Regions from separate parts of the Homo sapiens genome. Here region 1 is linked to region 2. Evidence: promoter capture Hi-C in human tissues and cell types (Jung and others, 2019). All regions are on one chromosome and are shown on one strand. Each heading gives the region's core, a stretch centred on a gene start or on the middle of the fragment in contact. The rest is flanking DNA. Distances are from core to core; before and after follow the strand shown. Region 1 overlaps FAM161B (FAM161 centrosomal protein B). Region 2 holds the start of PSEN1 (presenilin 1).

Region 1 (4,982 bases), core at 804-3,303, 810 kb after region 2:
ATGTCTCATATTTGCGGCAACTTCAGCCACCTGCTAGCATGCTTCTCTGAATTCTTGTTCCTCACTACTCCCTTCCTCTCACCCATGGGCTTTTATCCATGTTCTCTCTGTCTGGAACCTTCCTTCTCTCCAGGCTTTGTCTGGCGAACTCTTCCTTGTTCTTCAGTTTCACTTTAGACATCTATTCCACAAGACAAGACCCCCCTGCTCCAGGCTGCCCAGTGCCCTCACAGTCCCCTTTACCCCCCATCATTGCACTACTCAAAAAATATGGCCATTGCTTCTTTGCTTTTCTGTATTTCAGACTAGATAATAAACTGGAGGTTCCCTAAGATCTCCAGCCTTAACACTGTGCCTGGCACAGAATAAGCCCACTATGAATATGTGCTGAATGATGGCTAGCTGTTCTCCAAGCACCAGGTGTGGAGAACCGCAATTGTTCCAGTCCTGATCAGAAAATTCCCTTTGACCCCTTGAGGTATCTCTGATAACAGGAAAGGAGGCCCCTTGGCAGGGAGGTTTCCAGCATTTGGGGCCAGAATCAGAGCATGGGTCTCGTGCAGCCTGACCACTCACCTGACTGCAGATTCCCTCTTCCTGGTGGCATCTGTGATGTGCACAGGGAGAGTGTTGGCAGAGAGGGAAGCAAGGCCGCTCAGAGAACGACTCCTTGGCAGGGGTGTAGCTGGTGGCTGTGGGGAATCCTAGAAGAAACAAAGGTTGGTATTGGTGGGACAGCATGTGTGATTAGTTTCTATCTTTTTTTTTTTTTTTTTTTTTTGAGACAGAGTCTCGTCTCGCTCTTTTGCCCAGGCTGGAGTGCAGTGGCGCAATCTCGGCTCACTGCAACCTCCAGCTGCCTGGTTCAAGCAATTCTCCTGCCTCAGCCTCCCACGTAGCTGGGACTATACAGGTTGTGAGCCACCATGCCCAGCTACATTTTTGCAGTTTTAGTACAGACGGGGTTTCACCATGTTGGTCAGGCTGGTCTCGAATTCCTGATCTCAGGTGATCCACCCGTGTCGGCCTCCCAAAGTGCTGGGATTACAGGTGTGAACTACCGCGCCCAGCCATTTTCTATCTTTACTAGGATTCAGCTTCACTGAAGGACTGAAAATGAGAATCTTCATTTTTTTTCCTGGGAATAAGGCAAGGATAAAGAGATCTCAAGTTTCACAACCAAGCCAAGACTTGGATATCAATCCTAAAGTTTTTAGTCAAATGAGAAGAGTTCCTTGGAATTGGTATAGAGACATCAACAACTGATCCCAACTCCTTGCCTCTCAAGCCTGCTTGGACTTATTTCTGTGAAATCCTTCTACAGTAAGGGAGGAAAAGAAGTGTCCCTATGGTTTCTGTTGTGTTCTGTTTTTGAGATGAACTTTCACTCTTGTTGTCCAGGCTGGCCTGCGGTGGCACAATCTCAGCTCACTGCAATCTCCGCCTCCCAGGTTCAAGCAATTCTCCTACCTCAGCCTCTGAAGTAGCTGGGATTACAGGTGCCCGCCACCGCACCCAGCTAATTTTTGTATTTTTAGTAGAGATGGGGTTTTGCCATGTTGGCCGTGCTGGTCTCGAACTCCTGACCTCAGATGATCTGCCCTCCTCGGCCTCTCAAAGTGCTGGGATTAAAGGCGTGAGCCACCACGCCTGGCCTGTTTTTTGTTGTTGTTTTTAGATGGGGTCTCACTCTGTTGCCTAGGCTGGAGTACAGTGGCATCATCTTGGCTCACTGCAGCCAGAAGGTCCTCCCACCTCAGCCTCCTGAATGGCTGGAACTACAGGTACACACCACCACATGTGGCAAATATTTGTATTTTTCTTTTAGAGATGGGGTCTCTGTTGCCCAGGCTGGGCTGTGGTCTGGAGTTTATAGGAAAGTGAATCTGCTTACAACTGAGCTGGTGTTTAAAAAAAAGATAGGAAAACCTTGTTGAGAAGTGCTTTCCAGGAAGACCTGGCCCCACCCTGTATTTCAGGCCGCAGCCCTGACCCTCCCACAGCTGCCTGGGCTCTCACCTGCCTCCTTCCGGTGGTGGCAGCATCACAGGGCCGCTGAGGGTGGCGCAGGTTGGCGGTCCTCAGCAAGAAGGGCTTGTTGCGAGTGGCCTCTTGGGTTTCTCTTCTTTTGGCTGCTCTTCTCTGGAAGGCCTTGTAAAGGCCCTCATAGTCAGGGACCACAGGATTCACCCGAGGCTGGAATCTGAAGTTAGTGTGCAGAAACCCAAGCTTTTCCTGCTGGGTTCGGGTGGCTGTGCGGGGCTGTGGGTTAGCCCGGTTACTAGAGGAGGCGATAGGGGAAGAGGCCATCTGGAGCATGTCCAGGGCTCTCATTTGGATGCGAATTTTCCTGAAGAGCTCAGCTTCTGTGGAGAAAGGATGGTGATGGGTAAGAAAGGACCAAGCAAGAAACCTACAGGGTTGGAGAACTTTCCCTCTTTTACACACTAGCTGTAAGTGTTACTGGAGGCAAGTAGGAACTTTTCAGGAATTCTGACACGTTAACATCCTGTGAGATGCCTGCAGATGGCCTGAATAGGAGTAATTATGCCACAGAAAATAACAAACATTACAAACCAGCTTCCTTTTTTTTTTTTCTGGAGAGCTTGTTAATAAATGTCATCCAGAACACCACTGCCTGTGTCAATCAGGCTGCAGAAGCAGTGACCATCTACACTTACTGAGCACTTTCTATGATTGCTTCTTCAGAGATGAAGCAGAGGAAGTGGGCCAGTAACCTGCTCCTCTCCCAGGTTTCCCCATCTGAGAGAAAGGCCCTACCATCCACCCAGCTGCCCAGGCCCTTTGCCCACATCACTGACTCCTCCGTGTCTCTCATCAGTCACAAGTTCTGTCATTTCCTCCTCTTTAACCTCTCTCCAGTCCATCCTCGTTTTTTCATCCCTGCAACCAGTTGCACAATTTCTCTACTGAATTGTGAAATAGCTTCCTCTTGGCTCAACATCCCTCCAGTCTTGCTGCCCTCTCAGATTATCTATACAGCAATCAGAAGGATCCTTCTGAACTATATTTCTGATCATGGGCCACCCTGCCTCACTCCCTCAGTGGCTTCCCTGTGCCCTTGGGATGAAGTCCAGACTCGCCAACGTGGCTTGCAAAGCTCCTCATGTCTGGCCCATGCCTGCCTCTTCCTTCCCACTCCCTCTTCTCTCAGCCCTCGACCTTTCCATCCCTTGCAGATGCTCTGCTTTCTCTCCCCTCCATGCCACATTCTGCCTGCTCCACTTCTCCTCCCTCTTCGCCCCTCCTTCAGTTCAGCCCCAGGGCCCACTTTCTCAGGGGACCTTCCCTAACTGCTCCCTTGCTTCACCAATCCCCGGGTTAGGTCCCTTTGATATATGCTCCCATGCTTCCCCTTTTAATCCTTGTAAATAACTCGCCACATTTGTATGTATTTGTCTTTATCTGTTTTCCTCACATATCTACAAACTCCATGTCTGTGTGTTCACCATGGCACAGTGCCTGGAGCATGGCACATGCTACCGAAAAGTGAATAAAGCCTGAGCCCCTTATTTGGAGCTATACTTTTGGAAATGTGTAAATAATCATCCCCCAGGTAATTTCGGCGATTGACACTACCTCACCAGGACGAAGGAGCCATGGGGGAGCATCTCAGGGCAGTGTGCTGGTGGTGGCATGAGCCCAAGCTGGTCCTCAGGTGTCTCACTGGTTCTCTATTCCTGCACCTGTGCTGGTGCAGAGGCCCTCATGTGCATTCACTTAGATGTCAACAGGACGAGCCTTGGGGACACTGTGGGACCTCTCACTCCTGGCACCATACAGGTCCTGATTGTATAGACAGACCTAACCCTCCCCAATGGCCTGCACTAAGCGTGCAGCCTCTAGTGGGTCCACCCAAGCAGCAAATCTCCAAGCCAGGCAGATCCCTGGGCCCTGACTAAATCCCTATGGTGGGATTGGTTCCCCGAGGCAGGAGGCAGCAAGGTGGCAAGGATGTCTTTACCCTGGAGTTTATCCCCAAGGGCTGGCTCCAGAATGGACTTGGGAATCCTTCTGGTGGCCTTCTGCTTGGAGATCTTGGCTTCAGCTGTGGCTGCCAAGTCTCTCTGTCGAGCAGCTTCCTTTAGCTGCTCCTCCTTCTCCAGGAAGCTGAAGGGCTTCAAAGAAGAGAGGAGCAGTTCCTTCCTCTTCTGGATCCCTGCCTGCCTTCGGGCCTCGCTGCGCTCCATGATCTCTTGGTAGAGGGGCAGGTAGACATGTGCAGGCACAGGCTGTGCCCGGAACTGCCTGTGGCACTCGGCCTCTTCCTCACCCTGCCTCTGGGCCCGCTGCCTCTCCTGCTCAAAGGAGGCAGGTGAGCCCAGCCACTCGGCCTTCTTCCGGGCCTCGCGCAGCGTCATGCGGAATGGCCGAGGGACAGTAATGGATGATGCCCAGGAGCTGACGCTTCTGTGCTGGGAGGGAGGCCGGGAGCCTGAGGGTGGCTGGGTCTGAGGCCTGGGAATGTTGGAGGGAAGGTTGTTCAGGGAGCTGCAGCGCCTTGTGGAGCCACACCTGGGAAAAAAGCAGATCTGTGAGTGGAGGACAGGGCAGTCAGGAGGCCCTGCTCCCTCCAGACCTCCTCCCCAGTCCTCCCTTCCCACTGGTCACAGCTGGCTGCTCAGCCTAACACCACAGCCCCACAGGCCTCTATGTCCATGACCTTCCCACAGACAATCCTGGCAGCCCTAATGGAAAGTCTCTTCTCAGAATTGATCCAAGAACTGCCACTTTGCACTCTAATATTTCATATGAGAGAGAGAACAATGAGCAGAGTAGAGCTTTAGAGTCAGACAGACCTGGGTTTAAATCTTGCTTCAAACTTTGAGCAAAGTTCTGTTAAAACCTCAATTTCCTCCTATGTAGAGTGGCAAAAATTAATGTCTACTTACCAGGTTATTGGAGGAGAAAGTAAATATTAAATAAGATAAAGTAATGAGATAATGTACACTTTATCTCAT
Region 2 (4,855 bases), core at 983-3,482:
ACACCACCATGCCGGGCTAATTTTTGTATTTTTAATAGAGACGGGGTTTCACCATGTTGTCCAGGCTGGTCTTGTACTCCCAACCTCAAGTGATCCTCCTGCCTTGGCCTCCCAAAGTGCTGGGATTACAGGCATGAGCCACCGTGACCAGGCGTTCATGAAAAATTTTCATGACATTCTGTGAGGTGGGTGGACCATAATTTATTGTACCACATTTATTTATTTATTTATTTATTTATTTATTTATTTATTTATTTATTTTTATTTTTTGAGACATAGTTTCGCTCTTGTTGCCCAGGCTGGAATGCAATGGCGCAATCTCGGTTCACTGCAACCTCTGCCTTCCAGGCTCAAGCAATTCTGCCTCAGCCTCCCAAGTAGCTGGGATTACAGGCATGCGCCACCACGCCTGGCTAACTTTTTTTGTATTTTTAGTAGAGACGGGGTTTCTCCATGTTGATCAGGCTGGTCTCGAACTCCTGACCTCAGATGAGCCGCCCACCTTGGCCTCCCAAAGTGCTGGAATTACAGGCGTGAGCCACCGCACCCTGCCTATTGTACCATATTTAGTTTCCCAATTTTTTGCTATATAATATTCCATGAATATCTTTGCCCAAAATTTTTGTAGATTGTTTCTAAGAATAGTTCATCAGCATTTTAAGACATCCTATTAATATTAGCGGACTGCAATCAGATTGAAGTAGTTCACAAATAGATGGGTTTTAGCCTGTATTTGTTCAATACTGAACTATTGTATGTATCAGGCACTGTTATGTATCAGGCACTGTTCTCAGCACTTGTAAAATGTATATGTGCTGCTGACAAGCATGAGCACTTGTAAATGAACAAACTAAAATCCCTACTCTTGTTAAAGTGGGGGAGGTGAAGAATTTTAAAAACATCTTTTTTCGTTCAACCTTCTCCCACAACTTATCTTTCATTCTGCTAATGGAAAATATTACTTTTGTTCTTAAATATGAAGCTTTTGTGTGTAAAAAGTATTAGAATCTCATGTTTTTGAACAAGGTTGGCAGTGGGTTGGGAGGAGGGATTGGAGATTGATGCGATAGGAATGTGAAGGGATAGCTTGGGGTGGATTTTATTTTTTAATTTTAATTTTTATTTTTTGAGATGGAGTCTTGCTCTGTCTCCCAGGCTGGAGTGCAGTGGTGTGATCTCAGCTCACGGGTTCAAGCGATTCTCCTGCTGCAGCCTCCCGAGTAGCTGGGATTACAGGAGCGCGCCACCACACCCGGCTAATTTTTTTGTATTTTTAGTAGAGACGGGGTTTCACCATGTTGGTTAGGCTGGTCTAGAACTCCCAACCTCATGATCCGCCTGCTTCGGCCTCCCAAAGTGCCGGAATTACAGGCGTGAGCGACTGCACCCGGCCGCTTGGGGGTGGATTTTTAAAGAAACTTTAGAAGAATGTAACTTGCCCAGATACCATGTACCGTTAATTTCATTTTCGGTTTTTTGAATACCCATGTTTGACATTTCTCCGTTCACCTTGATTAAATAAGGTAGTATTCATTTTTTAGTTTTAGCTTTTGGATATATGTGTAAGTGTGGTATGCTGTCTAATGAATTAGACATTGGTACTGTCTTTACCAAAACTGGACAAAGAGCAGGCAGATGCAAAAATCAAGTGACCCAGCAAACCAGACACATTTTCTGCTCTCAGCTAGCTTGCCACCTAGAAAGACTGGTTGTCAAAGTTGGAGTCCAAGAATCGCGGAGGATGTTTAAAATGCAGTTTCTCAGGTTCTCGCCACCCACCAGAAGTTTTGATTCATTGAGTGGTGGGAGAGGGCAGAGATATTTGCGATTTTAACAGCATTCTCTTGATTGTGATGCAGCTGGTTCGCAAATAGGTACCCTAAAGAAATGACAGGTGTTAAATTTAGGATGGCCATCGCTTGTATGCCGGGAGAAGCACACGCTGGGCCCAATTTATATAGGGGCTTTCGTCCTCAGCTCGAGCAGCCTCAGAACCCCGACAACCCACGCCAGCGCTCTGGGCGGATTCCGTCAGGTGGGGAAGGCCAGGTGGAGCTCTGGGTTCTCCCCGCAATCGTTTCTCCAGGCCGGAGGCCCCGCCCCCTTCCTCCTGGCTCCTCCCCTCCTCCGTGGGCCGGCCGCCAACGACGCCAGAGCCGGAAATGACGACAACGGTGAGGGTTCTCGGGCGGGGCCTGGGACAGGCAGCTCCGGGGTCCGCGGTTTCACATCGGAAACAAAACAGCGGCTGGTCTGGAAGGAACCTGAGCTACGAGCCGCGGCGGCAGCGGGGCGGCGGGGAAGCGTATGTGCGTGATGGGGAGTCCGGGCAAGCCAGGAAGGCACCGCGGACATGGGCGGCCGCGGGCAGGGCCCGGCCCTTTGTGGCCGCCCGGGCCGCGAAGCCGGTGTCCTAAAAGATGAGGGGCGGGGCGCGGCCGGTTGGGGCTGGGGAACCCCGTGTGGGAAACCAGGAGGGGCGGCCCGTTTCTCGGGCTTCGGGCGCGGCCGGGTGGAGAGAGATTCCGGGGAGCCTTGGTCCGGAAATGCTGTTTGCTCGAAGACGTCTCAGGGCGCAGGTGCCTTGGGCCGGGATTAGTAGCCGTCTGAACTGGAGTGGAGTAGGAGAAAGAGGAAGCGTCTTGGGCTGGGTCTGCTTGAGCAACTGGTGAAACTCCGCGCCTCACGCCCCGGGTGTGTCCTTGTCCAGGGGCGACGAGCATTCTGGGCGAAGTCCGCACGCCTCTTGTTCGAGGCGGAAGACGGGGTCTGATGCTTTCTCCTTGGTCGGGACTGTCTCGAGGCATGCATGTCCAGTGACTCTTGTGTTTGCTGCTGCTTCCCTCTCAGATTCTTCTCACCGTTGTGGTCAGCTCTGCTTTAGGCATATTAATCCATAGTGGAGGCTGGGATGGGTGAGAGAATTGAGGTGACTTTTCCATAATTCAGGTGAGATGTGATTAGAGTTCGATCTGCGGTGGTGGCAGAGGCTTACAAGAAACACTAACGGGACATGGGAACCAATTGAGGATCAGGGAATAAAGTGTGAAGTTGACTAGGAGGTTTTCAGTTTAGAACATGGCAGAGACATTCTCAGAAATAAGGAAGTTAGGAAGAAAGACCTGGTTTAGAGAGGAGGGCGAGGAAGTGGTTTGGAAGTGTCACTTTGGAAGTGCCAGCAGGTGAAAATGCCCTGTGAACAGGACTGGAGCTGAAAACAGGAATCAATTCCATAGATTTCCAGTTGATGTTGGAGCAGTGGAGAAGTCTAAGCTAAGGAAGGGGAAGAGGAGGCCAAGGCAAACACTTAGGAACACTTGCAACGAGGGGGTGGAAGAAGAGCAAGGAGCCAGCTGAGGAGAATGAGTGTGGTTGGAGAACCACCACAGCGCAGGGTCGCCAGAGCTGAGGAAGGGGAGGGAAGCTTCAGGAAGGAAAAGGTTGGCAGGGATTTTGAGTGTTAGGCCTGGTGTAGCAGAAGGAACAGAAGATTTAGAGCAGCGCTAGCCAATAGAAATAAAATGTGAGGCCCGGGGCGGTGGCTCACGCCTGTAATCCCAGCACTTTGGGAGGCCGCGGGGCGGATCCTTGAGCTGAGGAGTTCGAGACCAGACAACACGGCGAAACCCCGGCTCTACAAAAAATTAGCTGGGCGTGGGGGCGCGCGCCTGTAGTCCCAGCTGCTCCCAAGCGAGGCTGAGGCAGGAGAATCACTTGAACCCGGGAGAAGGAGGTTGCAGTAAGCCAAGATTATGCCACTGCACTGCAGCCTGGGCAAAAGAGTGAGACTGTCTCAAAAAAAAAAAAAACCTGTTTTGTTTTTCTTTTGGAGAAAAGGCATACAAATTTATTAGCATGCAGACTGGGAGAACCACAAGGTGATTATCCCTATTTTAAATTTTCTAATAAACATACTATTATTTATTTATTTATTTATTTATTTATTTATTTATTTATTTTTTGAGACGGAGTCTGGCTCTGTCGCCCAGGCTGGAGTGCAGTGGCGCGATCTCAGCTCACTGCAAGCTCCGCCTCCCGGGTTCACGCCATTCTCCTGCCTCATCCTCCCCAGCAGCTGGGACTACAGGCGTCCGCCACCACGCCCGGCTAATTTTTTTGTATTTTTAGTAGACACGGGGTTTCACCGTGTTAGCCAGTATGGTCTCGATCTCCTGACCTCGTGATCCGCCCGCCTCGGCCTCCCAGAGTGCTGCGATTACAGGCGTGAGCCACCCTGCCCGGCCGGCTATTTATTTTTTTAGAGATGGGAGCCTCACTATGTTGCCCAGGCTGGTCTTGAACTCCTGGAGTCAAGTGATCCTCCCGCCTTGGCCTCCCAGAGTGGTGGGATACAGGCACAAGCCACTGTGCCTAGCCATAAACACATTTTTAAAGGTAAAAAAAGGCCGAGCGCGGTGGCTCACCCCTGTAATCCCAGCACTTTGGGAGGCCGTGGCGGGCGGATCATGAGGTCAGGAGATCGAGACATCCTGGCTAACACGGTGAAACCCCATCTCTACTAAAAAATACAAAAAAAAAAAAATTAGCCGGGCGTGATGGCGGGCGCCTGTAGTCCCAGCTACTCGGGAGGCTGAGGCAGGAGAATGGCGTGAACCCGGGAGGCGGAGCTTGCAGTGAGCGGAGATCGCGCCACTGCACTCCAGCCTGGGCGACAGAGCCAGACTCTGTCAAGAAAAAAAGAAAAAAAATGTAAAAAGAGGCTGGGTGGCCGGGCGCAGCGGCTCACGCCTGTAAACCCAGCACTTTGGGAGGCCGAGGCGGGTGGATAACCAGATCAGGAGATGGAGACCATCCTGGCTCACGCGGTGAAACCCCGTCTCTACTAAAAGTACAA

Evidence for each region. The method cuts DNA at HindIII sites, captures the fragments that hold promoters and counts their contacts. A contact is called where the count stands out against the background at its distance.
Region 1: a contact is called between a fragment that was not itself captured here and the fragment with the promoter of PSEN1 in region 2, in 1 of the 25 tissues and cell types used here (spleen).

Annotation. Positions count from the first base shown.
Region 1 is chr14:73,940,350-73,945,331 of GRCh38, forward strand. It overlaps FAM161B (FAM161 centrosomal protein B), which reads right to left. Exons shown (of 9, transcript NM_152445.3): 3 at 3,986-4,536; 4 at 2,020-2,366; 5 at 577-704. Among named protein-coding and RNA genes, the nearest start is that of FAM161B, 7.3 kb to the right of the region's middle. The HindIII fragment of the contact is 9,683 bases long and covers 1-4,982 here.
Region 2 is chr14:73,134,275-73,139,129 of GRCh38, forward strand. PSEN1 (presenilin 1) reads left to right here and starts at 2,233. Exons shown (of 12, transcript NM_000021.4): 1 at 2,233-2,309. RefSeq lists silencers at 2,013-2,092, 2,353-2,412 and an enhancer at 2,583-2,692. The HindIII fragment of the contact is 9,269 bases long and covers 1-4,855 here.